Regions from separate parts of the Homo sapiens genome. Here regions 1, 2 and 4 are each linked to region 3. Evidence: promoter capture Hi-C in 16 types of primary human blood cells and fetal thymus (Javierre and others, 2016). All regions are on one chromosome and are shown on one strand. Each heading gives the region's core, a stretch centred on a gene start or on the middle of the fragment in contact. The rest is flanking DNA. Distances are from core to core; before and after follow the strand shown. Region 1 overlaps NYX (nyctalopin). Region 2 has its middle 15 kb from the start of LINC02601. Region 3 holds the start of GPR82 (G protein-coupled receptor 82). Region 4 overlaps DDX3X (DEAD-box helicase 3 X-linked).

Evidence for each region. The method cuts DNA at HindIII sites, captures the fragments that hold promoters and counts their contacts. A CHiCAGO score of 5 or more calls a contact.
Region 1: a fragment that was not itself captured here is called in contact with the fragment with the promoter of GPR82 in region 3 in 1 of 17 cell types (neutrophils); the score reaches 7.7 in neutrophils.
Region 2: a contact is called between a fragment that was not itself captured here and the fragment with the promoter of GPR82 in region 3, in 1 of 17 cell types (neutrophils). The highest score is 6.8, in neutrophils.
Region 4: a fragment that was not itself captured here is called in contact with the fragment with the promoter of GPR82 in region 3 in 1 of 17 cell types (neutrophils); the score reaches 5.7 in neutrophils.

What each region holds. Positions count from the first base shown.
Region 1 is chrX:41,464,343-41,467,780 of GRCh38, reverse strand. All of the region lies in intron 2 of NYX (nyctalopin), which reads right to left. Among named protein-coding and RNA genes, the nearest start is that of NYX, 19 kb to the right of the region's middle. The HindIII fragment of the contact is 3,447 bases long and covers 1-3,061 here.
Region 2 is chrX:41,259,359-41,262,828 of GRCh38, reverse strand. No RefSeq gene overlaps it. Among named protein-coding and RNA genes, the nearest start is that of LINC02601, 15 kb to the left of the region's middle. The HindIII fragment of the contact is 4,129 bases long and covers 1-3,470 here.
Region 3 is chrX:41,722,594-41,726,159 of GRCh38, reverse strand. It overlaps GPR82 (G protein-coupled receptor 82), which reads right to left and starts at 1,979. Exons shown (of 3, transcript NM_080817.5): 1 at 1,871-1,979. All of the region lies in intron 5 of CASK (calcium/calmodulin dependent serine protein kinase), which reads left to right. The HindIII fragment of the contact is 20,979 bases long and covers 1-3,566 here.
Region 4 is chrX:41,337,611-41,340,110 of GRCh38, reverse strand. DDX3X (DEAD-box helicase 3 X-linked) reads right to left here. Exons shown (of 17, transcript NM_001356.5): 3 at 1,028-1,075. Among named protein-coding and RNA genes, the nearest start is that of DDX3X, 4.7 kb to the right of the region's middle. The HindIII fragment of the contact is 3,587 bases long and covers 1-2,500 here.

The DNA of each region.
Region 1 (3,438 bases), core at 89-2,588, 260 kb after region 3:
GAGGCTGAGGCAGGAAGATTACTTGAGCCCAGGAGTTCAAGATTACAGTGAGCTATGATTGGACCACTGAACTCCAGCCTGGACAACAGAGCAAGACCTTGTCCTCCCAAAAAATAATAAATTAAGTCTCCAGGCGCGGTGGCTCATGACTGTAATTCCAGCACTTTGGGAGGCAGAGGCAGACAGATCACCTGAGGTCAGGAGTTCGAGACCAGCCTGGCCAACATGGTGAAACCCCGTCTCTACTAAAAATACAAAAATTAGCCAGACGCAGTGGCACACGCCTGTAATCCCAGCTACTCAGGAGGCTGACGCACAAGAATCGCTTGAACCCGGGAGGCAGAGGTTGCAGTGAGCCAAGATCATGCCACTGTACTCCAGCCTGAGTGACACAGTGAGACTCCATCTAAAATAATAAATAATAAATAATAATAATAATAAATTAAGTCAAGTAAATTCTCAGAACTGACAGCAAAACTGTATTGGTTTGTTCAGTATAAAGACTAAGTACATGTTTAGTGAGCCAGAAAAGCAAGGCACCAAAAAAAAATTCTTTTAATAATAATATATGTGGATGAGTTCTACTGCAATCATGGCAGAGTAGCTTCTATCAGACTAACATTCCCACTGCTATCTATGGTAGACTCTGGACAAAATTTTTTTAAAAAAATTGTTTTAGCTGGGCGTGGTGGCTCACACCTGTAATCCCAGCACTTTGGGAGGCCGAGGTGGGTGGATCACCGGAGGTCAGGAGTTCGAGACCAGTCTGGCCAACATGGCGAAACCCTGCCTCTACTAAAACTACAAACAAACAAAAATTAGCCTGGCATGGTGGCAGGCACCTGTAATCCCAGCTACTTAGGAGGCTGAAGCAAGCAAATCTCTTGAACTCGTGAGGCGGAGGTTGCAGTGAGCCAAGATCACACCATTGCACTCCAGCCTGGGCAACAAGAGCGAAAATTCATCTCAAAAAAAAAAAAAAAAAAAAAAAAAGACCAGTCTGGCCAACATGGCGAAACCCTGTCTCTACTAAAACTACAAAAAAAAAAAAAAATTAGCCAGGCATGGTGGCGGGCACCTGTAATCCCAGCTACTCGAGAGGCTGAGGCAGGAAAATTGCTTGAACCTGGGAGGCAGAGGTTGCAGTGAGCCAGGTTCACGCCATTACACTCCAGCCTGGGCTACAAGAGCGAAACTCTGTCTCAAAAAAAAAAAAAAATTGTTTTAAAGCACCAGGGAACAACCAAAACAGGCAATCAGAGTCGATGCAACCCTTCAAAGAAGAGACACAAACTAGGTGAGATGTGCATCTAACTGATTTTTCCTCTCAGGATTTTTTTTTTATTTTTTATTTTTTTAGACAGGGTCTCTTCTCTCCGTTGCCCAGGCTGGAGTGCGGTGGTGCAATCTCGGTTCACCACAGTCTTGACCTCCCTGGGCTTGGGTAATCCTCCCACCTCAGCCTCCCAAGTAGCTGGGACTACAAGTATGTACCACCATGCCCAGCTAATTTTATGTAGACAAGGTATCACTATGTTGCCGAGGCTGGTCTTGAACTCCTGACCTCAAGAGATCCTCCTGCCTCGGCCTCCCAAAGTGCTGGGATCACAGGCGTGAGCCTCTGGGCCCGGCTCTCTCAGGGCAATTTCAAGTCCACACAGCACATGGTGAGTGAAGCTAAAGCAGAAAGCAAGCTGACAGCTTAGAGGTCAGCATTTATAGCTGCCACAGTGGCTGGAAATTGAGGAGGGAAAACATGGAAAAAGGGAGCCTCAAAAGAGGAGCCACAAAGTTAGTATACAGGTTCCCCTTATGTCCTTGGCTGAGTTCTGAAGGGCATATGTGTGGGATGACTCCAGGGAGCCCAAGGGGAAAGCAAGAACTAAACACCAAAAGACCTAAACAGAGATTTTAGCAATTGCCCAGTGACAGGAGGCAGTTTAAGAGTTCAAGGTCCCAGCTGGGCGTGGTGGTTCACGCCTGTAATCCCAGCACTTTGGGAAGGCGAGGCAGGCAGATCACTTGAGGTCAGGAGTTCGAGACCAGCCAACATGGTAAAACCTCATCTTTACTAAAAATACAAAAAAAAAAAAAAAATAGCTGGGTGTGGTGACAGGCACCTGTAGTCCCAGCTACTCGGGGGGCAGGTAGCTGGGACTACAGGTGGAGGTTGCAGTGAGCTGAGATCATGCCACTGCACTCCAGCCTGGGCAACAGAGCAAGGCTCTATCTTAAAAAAAAAAAAAAAAGAGTTCAAGGTCTGCCAAGTTAGAGGAGCTTGTCAAATACCTTGAGCTTTCCACTGAAACCCCAAAGGACCATGCCTCAGGAGTGAAGACCATTTCCCAGGACTAAAGGCAAAACTCAAGTAGTCCTACCCTTAAAAAGCCTAAAACCAAGGCTTTCAGGGAACAAGGTGATCTGCCAGTAATTTAACTGAATGCCAGAACAAAATTCTACACTCTTCAACAGAAGACAAGAGAATCCAGAGTTTCTACCACTGGCTCCGCAGTATCCAGTGTACAACCAAATACTAGTAGACATGTGAAGAAGCAGCAAACATGACACTTGTCAAGAAGGAAAAAAAAAACAGCAGAAGCAGATTCAGACAGCCCACATGTTGGAATTACCAAGCAAAGATTTGCTATAAATATGTTAAGGAATTTACAGGAAAAGATAGGGATCATGGGCAAAGACATGGGGAATCTGAATTTTAGAAGAGGTATGGAAACTCTAAAAAGGAACCCAGTAGAAATCTTAGTACTGAAACAATAGCTGAAATTTTAAAAATTATTGAATAAGATAAATAGCAGATTAGACACTGCAGAAGAAAATCTTCATAAACTTGAAGAGAGGCGAGTAGTTATTAACCAAAGTGAAGCACAGAGAGAAAATAAAAAGAAGACTGGGGGAAAAATTATCAGAGCCTCAATGACCTGTGGAACAATATCAAGCAATTAGACTAATATACATGTATGTGGAGTCTCAGAGGAGAGAAGATACAGAATATGGCTAAAAGATAGTTGATGACAGTTTCCAAATTTGATTAAAACAAGAAGCTTAGCAAGCCCCAAGTAACATAAAACACACACACACACACACACACACACGCACGGCCCATCATAGCCAAAGATAGAAAATTCTTAAAAGTATCCAAAACAAAAAGACATATTACATAGAGTAAAAAACAGTAAAAGATAATCACAGTTATGGTCTGAATGTTTATGTCCGCCTTCCAAATTTATGTGTTGAAATCCTAACCCCCAAAGTGATGGTATTAGGAGATGGAGACTTTGAGAGGTACTTAGGTCAGGAGAGTGGATGATCAAGAATGGGATTAGTGGCTGGGCACAGTGGCCCATGCCTGTAATCCTAGCACTTTTGGAGGCCGAGGTGGGTGGATCGCTTGAGCCCAGGAGTTTGAGACCAGCCTGGGCA
Region 2 (3,470 bases), core at 361-2,860, 460 kb after region 3:
ATTAGCTGGGCGTGGTGGTGCACACCTGTAGTCCCAGCTACTCAGGAGGCTGAGGCAGGGGAATTGCTTGAACTCAGGAGGCGGAGATTGCAGTGAGCCGAGATCGCACCACGGCTCTCCAGCCTGGTGACAGAGCAAGATTCTGTCTCAAAAAAGAAAAAAAAAAGAAATTATCTGGCCTATCTTGTGTGATTGTAGGTGTAAAAGTTGATCATACTTCAGCTGGGTGTGGTAGCTCATGCTTGTAATCCCAGCACTTTGAGAGGCTGAGGGATCACTCAAGGCCAGGAATTTGAGACCAGCCTGGGCAACAAGGTGAAACCCCACCTCTATAAAAAATACAAAAAAATAGCTGGGCATGGTGGCATGTGCCTGTAGTCCTAGATACTTGGGAGGCCAAGAATTGCTTGAGCTCAGGAGGTGGAGGCTGCAGTGAGCCATGATTGCACCACTGTCTTCCAGCCTGGGTAATAGAGCAAGACACACAGAAAGGGAAGGGAGGGGAGGGGAGGGGAGGGAAGGGAAGGGAAAAGGAAGGGGAAGGGAGCGGAGGGGAAGGGAAGGGAAGGGAAGGGAAAAGGAAGGGAAAGGAAAGGGAAAGGGAAAGGAAAGGAGAAAGGAAAGGAGAAAGGAAAGGAAAGGAGAAAGGAAAGGAAAGGAGAAAGGAAAGGAGTAAGGAAAGGAAAGGAGAAAGGAAAGGAAGGAAAAAGAGAGAAAGAAAAGAAAGGAAGGAAGAAAGAAAGAGAGAAAGAAAGAAAAGAAAAGAAAAGAAAGGAGAGAAGAAAAGATCATACGAATTGGGTCATTCTTGACATACCCAACTGAAACAGAGTCAGGAGGTCAGGGGGAAGCAGGCAGGGCACATAACATTGCTCCAAAAATGTAATTCTCTGCAAGCCTGGCTGCTGAAACTGCCTGCTATGACCTGAAACCAGTTTTTTGTTTTGTTTTTTGTTTCGTTTTGTTTTGAGATGGAGTTTCACTTTGTCGCCCAGGCTGGAGTGCAGTGGCCTGATCTCGGCTCACTGCAATCCCCACCTCCTGGGTTCAAGCTATTCTCCTGCCTCAGACTCCCGAGTAGCTGGGATTACAGGTGCCTGCCACCACGGCTGGCTAATTTTTGTACTTTTAGTAGTGACAGGGTTTCACCATGTTGGCCAGGATGGTCTCGAACCCCTGACCTTAAGTGATTCGCCCACCTCAGCCTCCCAAAGTGCTGAGATTACAGGTGTAAGCCACCATGCCTGGCCTTGAAACCAGTTTTATCTCATGGCTTCTGAAGCAAACTGCTGCAACTCTAAGACTAGTTCTACCCACTGCCAACACTCTCCAATCAGAGCTTGCTTGCCAGCTCTCTGAAACCTTACTAGTGCCAATGAGCTTCCTCAAAGAGCAATATGAAACATTTCCCCTTTCTATAAAACCTCTAACCTTCTCTTTGTTCTTCAGACATACCGAAGACCGGACAGTCTGCATATATGCTCTGAATTGCAATTCTTTCTTCCCAAATAAAACGTTTTAATTTCAGATTTATCTGTATATTTTATTTGACTTCAGCATAGGTTATAAGACCTCCATTTCAGAAGAGATCCCGCCCCATATCCGGGAGGAGGGAATGCCACACAGAGAGGCCAAGAAGAATCTGAACAGACAGGCCTTGCTAGGCTTAGATCATATCCTTTTTGTCCAATCACATTTCTTTTTTTTTTTTTTTTTTTTTGAGACGGAGTCTCGCTCTGTCGCCCAGGCTGGAGTGCAATGGAGTGATCTCAGCTCACGGCAAACTCCGCCTCCTGGGTTCAAGTGATTCTCCTGCCTCAGCCTCCCGAGTAGCTAGGATTACAGGCACACGCCACTAAGCCCGACTAATTTTGTATTTTTAGTAGAGACAGGGTTTCACCATGTTGACCAGGCTGGTCTTGAATCCCTGACCTCGGGTGATCCACCCGCTTCAGCCTCCCAAAGTGCTAGGATTACAGGCGTGAGCCACCATGCCCGGCCCAATCACATTTCTAAATGGATGTCCATGCTTCATGCCTATCCAATGAAGTCTCCATAAAAGGCCAAGAAGATGGGGCATGGGGAGGTTCCAGAGGGATGAAAACATGGCGCCTTGTAGGAAGGTGAACAAGAACTCATCCGCAGCTGAGCACAGTGGCTCATGCTTATAATCCCAGCACTTTGGGAGGCTAAGGTGGGAGGATTGCTTGAGCCAAGGAGTTCGAGACCAGCCTGGGCAACATAGGGAGACCTTGTCTCTACAAAAAATACAAAAATTCGTCGGTAATGGTGGTGTTAGCTTGTAGTCCCAGCTACTTGGGAGGCTGAGGTGGGAGGATTTGCTTGAGTCCAGGAGGTTGAAGCTGCAGTGAACCATGATCGTGTGCTAGATACAGTTCAGTGGCATTAAAAATGTACTTAACGCCACTGAACTGTATACATAAAAATGGTTACAATGGCAAATTTTATGTATATTTTATCACAAGAAAATCTTTTTAAGGCCGGGCATGGTGGCTCACACCTGTAATCCCAGCACTTTGGGAGGCCGAGGTGGTTAGATCATGAGGTCAAGAGATCGAGACCATCCTGGCCAACATGGTAAAACCCCATCTCTACTAAAAATACAAAAATTAGCTGGGCATGGTGGCATGCGCCTGTAGTCCCAGCTACTCAGGAGGCTGAGGCAGGAGAATTGCTTGAAGCCAGGAGGCGGAGGTTGCAGTGAGCCAAGATTGTGCCACTGCACTCCAGCCTGGTGACAGAAAGACTTCGTCTCAAAAAAAAAAAATCTTTTTAAAGAAAAAATACAATATTTACAATGCATTATTTACAATAATTACCCTTCCTGTGCCCCCACTCCTTCTCAATGCAGGGTAGCTCTTTGAATCAAGAGGTGCAGGCCTTGAGCCTGGGCTGGCCTTGGGACTTGCTTTGACCGGTTGAATACTTCACATTGTGCCTGCTCCAGGCCTCAATGGCAAGAGACCTTGAGCATTTCTGCGATTTCTGTTCACTCTCCTGGAACCCCGCCGCCTCCCTATGAACAAACGTGGGCTAGCCTGCTGGGGATGCAGGACCAGGCAGACGAACGACGATCCGACCAGCTGAGGTCACTCCAGACCAGCCCATCCGCAGCCAGTCTGGCAGATGCAGGTGGGAGCCATGTGTATCAGCTGAGCTCAGCCCAGATTGCCAGCCGGCAGCAGCAAAAGCTAAATCAACAGTTGGTGTTTTGGCTTCATGCCTATAATCCCAGCACTTTGAGAGGCGGAGGCAGAAGGATCGCTTGAGCCCAGGAGTTCAAGACCAGCCTGGGTAACACAGTAAGACCCCATCTCTACAAAAAATCAAAAAATTAGCTGGCCATGTCTGTGGTCCTAGCTACTTGGAAGACCGAGGTGGGGGGACCGCTTGAGCCCAGGAGTTCAAGACCAACCTGGGCAACATAGGGAGACCCTGTCTCTACAAAA
Region 3 (3,566 bases), core at 730-3,229:
CTGGACAACATAGCGAGACCCTGTCTCTATAAAAAATACAAAAACTAGACCGGGTATGTTGGCTCATGCCTGTTATCCCAGCACTTTGGGAGGCCAAGGCCAGCCTGGGCAACATGGTGAAACCATGTCTCTACAGAAAAATTAGCCAGGCATCCTGGCATGTGCCTGGAGTCCCAGCTACTTGGGAGGCTGAGGTTTGAGGATCAGTTGAGCCTAGGAGTTCAAGGCTGCAGTGAGCTATGATCATTCTACTGCACTCCAGGCTGGGTAACAGAAAGAGACCCTGTCTCAAAAACAAACAAAAAAAAACTGTAGCTGCTATGCTTGTTGGTTAGAGTGTCCTTGTGTGTAATTTGCTATCTGAGTTTTTCAGAGGATTTTTTTTAAAGGATATGATGTTTTAATCACAACATAAATGCTGGTTTTTACTTTTTTCTGTCTTATATTTAAATCTTTCTCGCTTCAAAGGGTACACATGAAGTGCTGAAGAATCATATACAAACTGCTTTTATTCTTATTTTTCTCCTTATTTCCTCACTTCTTTCAGGTGAGAATAACAAAAGTTACTGGATTCTGGTCAAATAAGAACCATGATCTCTATTCAGAATGTGCCATATTCTCTGTGTTCTTCACCATAGCCTTCTGAGCACCACATTCTCCACTCTTTCATGATCTAGAGCAAGGTTTCTCAATCTTCTTTTTAATCATGTTCTCTTTTGATAAACATAAAAACTGTACCATACACAACCCTTTGAAATTCTTATATCCCCCCAGCCCCTCAGGGCAATTTTACTCTCTACCCCCTTCAGAATTATGGTTTGATTTATTTTCTGCATCTTGGATTACAGAAATTGGGGTTTTTTTTCAAATATGATATTATAATTTTATAATAACTTTTTAAACCAATCCACACCCAAAGTCTTGAAAACTTGAGGACTGTGCAGTGTCTGTGGGTTTAAATAACAAGATTCTTAATTAATGTTTACCACTGTCTTTATAATTTTATTTCTTTGCTATTTTTATTTAGAAAACAGTCCATATGCTTCATTGTAAGTTTGTATCTGAATCTAGTGCAACCTGATGAATTATAATCTGGTTTCAGTTAGTGTAGACCCTGGTATAAATATATAAAACCTAATCTGTAACTTCACCAGTTCAAAAATCAGTCAGACAGTGAAATGAGCCAGTTTATTTAAGAAAAAATTATCTGCTCACAGTAGGTTTTGATTTTACATAAGGATTGGAGCTTCCTTTTATGATGCTGTTAAAGAAAAGCAGTAGCTCCTACCTTGTGCAGATAATGCATAGTATACTAAAAACTGCAAAGGTAATGGTGCTTCTGTATGAATATTAAATGCTTCCAAACAAAAGGGACATAGACTTCTGCAGAGGCTAGCTTTATCAGACAGAAGTTGAGTCTCTGTAGGACTCTCAGTGTAGCAGTCAACAACTAGGTCACCATCTTTACCTTCCCAAACTTGTATCTACTATGTACATCTCCTTCAAAAATAAACTTGGATCATAAAACTACTAGATAACTATTTTCCAGAATTTGGAAAGTACTATTAAGAAATCAAATAAAAATTACATGTTACAGATGCAAAACTGGTCTCCAGAAAATGTCTCTAAGTCTATATTCCCCTCAGGAGAATGTCTATCTCAAGTCACTCATGCATACATTTTGTCTCTGCTAATTTGACAAATGAAAAAAGTTCTACAACTCTTAACTTCAGTTACTAATGACTGTCTACATAGTTAATATGCTGACTGCCTTTCTTAATGATCAGCTTTCAAAATTTAAACCATTAGGTCCTGTTTATTTTTATAGAGTTTAATTTTTAAGCTAAAAATGAATAATAATCACTCTTACCTGTATGAGTAGTTTATGCCAACTAAGGTTATATTGTTCAGGGCAGTGATGCCAAATTTCAGACTTAAAATTCTCTGATCTTCACTCTTCCAATATCTTTAGTCAGTGTGAATAGATTCTTGCATGACACCAACTACAGTGGGAGGAAAAGGGGAAATTAAACAGAATATTGAAGAAATTCAATAGTTATGGTCAATGTGGCAACTGCCTCCTCAAAAAACCCTCATTTCTCTATTTCTGTAGTGGGAGGAAGTGGTGAACAATATACATATTATACTTCCTTATGATTATTTCATGAACTAGTTACACTCCAGTAACCTTTGTTTGCACGATTGACTGAAGTTAAGTTCACAGGTTTAATCCCCCATGGCCAGTTTTATATGACACAGTGATAGAAGGAGCCACTCTGTAGTAACCCAATACAAATATTGGTGCAAACTCGTTTGTAAAATTGTTTGTGGATGGCTTATTTGCAATCCATCTTTATCAAAAATAGAAACAAAACTCAAAGTTTTCTTATAACTTACTAGAATCAAATATTATAGAGCTAAAATAGAACTTCATGATCATCTGTGGACTGAGACCCTTTGTTTTAAAGTTGAAGAAGCTGAGGCCCAGAGGAACTCACTGTAAGCACAGACTGCACCCAGGGTTGGGTCCCAGTTTGGTTACTAATGAGTTAACCCACTCTGTTTCTAATTGCCCTGCACTATCTCCATTTGTCAACATAATACACTGTTTGGGGCATTTCATAATGGATTTGGCAAATCCTGGGAAGTGCCAAGTATGCCTCAGATCAAATGAATAGTTATAAAGAATTGTGAAACCATGACTAGTCTAAAACAATAAAAATTTTAAAAATAAAAAATAGAATTGTGAAACCAATTTTTTTGTTCAGGATTGTCGAATCAGTCTGTGACCTACTAACTAAATGAAAGCTAAGTGTGTACATCTGGGGAGGAAGACTTGCATCAAGCACTCCCTCTCATCCTTGAGTAGTTAAACCAGTGGGAGTCTGAAAAAGAGAACAGAAATCTAATTTCATCAAACCTGAGCATTTTAGTTATCAGTAAATCTTCACTTAAAATTTACAGAAGTACCTTGCCATTTCTCATAAACCCGCAATGCTTACCTTATTTCATGTTTATTTCATAAATTCTCTATGATGTTTGCTAATATTTCTCTCCAAAACAAAAGTGAGAACTGCCTAAAGTGTCCAGATTGTGTTCTGCTGCTGTTCATCTTTGCCTTGCCACCATTTACTTAAGAACAGTGACTCATCCAGGGTTACATGGCCGTTCATTACAGAGTAGTTTGGCTTTTAGAATTCCCATCACTTTTACTTCAGTAATGTATCATGTTCCAGGAAGGAATTACATAGAACAAAAAACAGTTTTAATTAATTTAGAGAAGAACAGAAATGGAATGCTATTTCTAAGTGATTGAAAGATAGTTGTAATATTATCTGTTCAGGCATAAGCGTCTTTGGTCCGAAAAAAGAACGCTCTTGTTTTCCTCCATTGTCTCCAAACTCAGTAAATGATACCATCACTCCTTCAGTTATTCAAGCCAAAAACTTACGAATCATCCTTAATTCCTCTTTCTTTCACATCTCACATCTAATCAATTGCTGGTACTACAGCTTCTACTATCACTACCATCATTCATTAGCCACATTTCATGAGAGCTTACTATG
Region 4 (2,500 bases), core at 1-2,500, 390 kb after region 3:
AAGGCAAAACCCCGTCTCTACTAAATATACAAAAATTAGCCGGGCATGGTGGCACATGCCTGTGATCCCAGCTACTTGGGAGGCTGAGGCAGGAGAATCACTTGAACCCAGGAGGCGGAGGTTGCAGTGAGCCCGCGCTACTGCACTCCAGCCTCCGCAGCAGAGCAAGGCTCCGTCTCAAAAAAAAAAAAAAAAAAAAAAAGCCAAAGTGATCTTCTGGTAGAAATAATACAGATTTTATATCCATGCATTGCCAGGACAGTGAAGGTAATACAGACTACATATGGAGATGGAGGAACAGCAGCAAACCATGTGCTCCCCTGTGGACTCTCCACTCTTCCTATCTGCCTTCTTTATACAGTATCTTCCCTCCTAATCTTTGGTTTTCCTGACTTTCCCTTTTCCTCCAAATTTTGGATGGTCTATTTTACAGAATATAAAGCACCCGAACAGCTGTCTCATAATATGAAACATATACTAGCTGTCATCTATCACTACGTTACAATTACAATGGGAAAAGACACCAGATATTGTAATACATTTTGGACAAAACCTTTCAAAAGCAGCAAGGCAAGGAGATGAAACCAGAGAATCACTTCCAACGCTGTAACTTGTTAACTGTTCTACAATAAGCCCATCTTCATTTCTAGCAACTTTGCCAAGACAGAAATAACCAGGTTGTTATCATTATACAGCTTGGTTTACACAGTAGGGCACCCACCTCTTCCAAACTAAAACCATGCTGTGAATGATTACAAACAGATTCAGCACAACACTAGTGAAACTGTACAAAACCATGCCCTTGGCGTCAGAACAGTTTGACATAGGAATGCCGAATTTCCCACTGCGTAACATTAGATGAGTTCTTCCAAAATTATTAAGCTCTAGTATTTGAACCAAGGCTGACAGAAGCATAGAAAAACAACACCATGTTTAGACCTCCCCCAAATGCCTGGTTTTCCTTAGGCTTTACTAACTTCTAAAGGAGGCAAAAAATAGACCTACGAAGTTACTTGTGAGGACCTACCTTTAGTAGCTTCTCGGTTCCTTAAATGAGGAGGAATATAGCGCCCTTCTAAAAAAATATATATATATATAAAATTAATTAAATGCCAAAAAACCTTCCCATTTAAATTTCTGTTACTAAAAAATGGTTCTGGGAAATTAAAATCTCCAGCCTTCCAATCTGATTACTTACCTGGACACTGAGAGGGGGGAAAAATAAGAATCTAATTTTAAATGGGTTACTGCTTCATAAGGAGAACTCTGAAAGGAGTTTGATAAAAAAAAGCTGATTTGGAACCTAATAGTTGAAATCCACAAATTGAGCACATTTAGCCACCAGTGGTCATTTAATGTGATTTTTTTAAAGGCCTGCTAGATTTAAGAGAACTGTCATCAAAACTGTCAACAAAAGCATTAAGTATTACTGTAACAATTTAAGATTACTCATGTAACATATCTCACAATCTTTTGTTTCTATGCCAGTAAGTTGCAAAACATACAATAAATAAACAAGGAAAAGCTGCAAAGGGGAGTTAATTTCAAGGAATTGCAGGTTTTAATTTGGGGCTTGCTGAGTTTAAGGAAAGTTGACAGTTGCTCTGTATGCGAGCAGGAGTACAGCCTAGAATATGGATAAGCAAAAAAAACAACATAAAGCCAAATAAATTTGCTTTATAACTAGTAAACGTGTCATTTTTCTTTTTCACTTCTAGACTGAATTAAATATTTTTAAAAATCTCTACTAGGACAATCAGTTCCTAAAAGATTCTTAGCATGACAAATAAGGTGAAAGTTAAAGCAAACACCAAGTTTTGTTCCCAGTGAAGCTGTTCTTGCCTAAAAATGAGGACACATCATAGCCCATACTCACTTTTGTTTTAATAAGTAGGAAGAGATCTGAGCTAAAAATAAGGGTCTATTGCCCTTATAATAAACCACCAAGATCCCCTATCTTAACACTAACCTCTAACAAGTCTCTAAATAACCCCCCTTAGAAGAAAAAAAGCAACTTTTCTAATGCCTTTTTAAAAGAAATGACACATTTGAAAACCTAACCTAACCACCAATCCAAAATTCAGTATAGTCTTCTGTTCTTCAGGAGAAAGGAGTAGCTATAACCAATGAAATGCATATTCCCTTAATTCAATTTAATAAATATAGTCAGTTAACAGGGACACATTCCCATCACCTCTAAACTGGGCTCAGGATTTATAATGGACAAAAACTCTTCTAGAGATAATTTGATATAATAAGGTTCTTTCCAATGATTAGCTGCTTTTACTCAAGAGAGCCAGCTAGTCATTGATGTTTTATTATCAGAAAGGCACAGCTATTCGGGAGGCTGAGGCAGGAGAATCGCTTGAACCCGGAGGCAGAGACTGCGGTGAGCCGAGATCACACCATTGCACTCCAACCTGGGCAACAAGAGCAAAGCTCCATCTCAACCAAAAAAAAAAAAAAAAGGCAACGATGCTTTAGATTGATCACTAAGTAC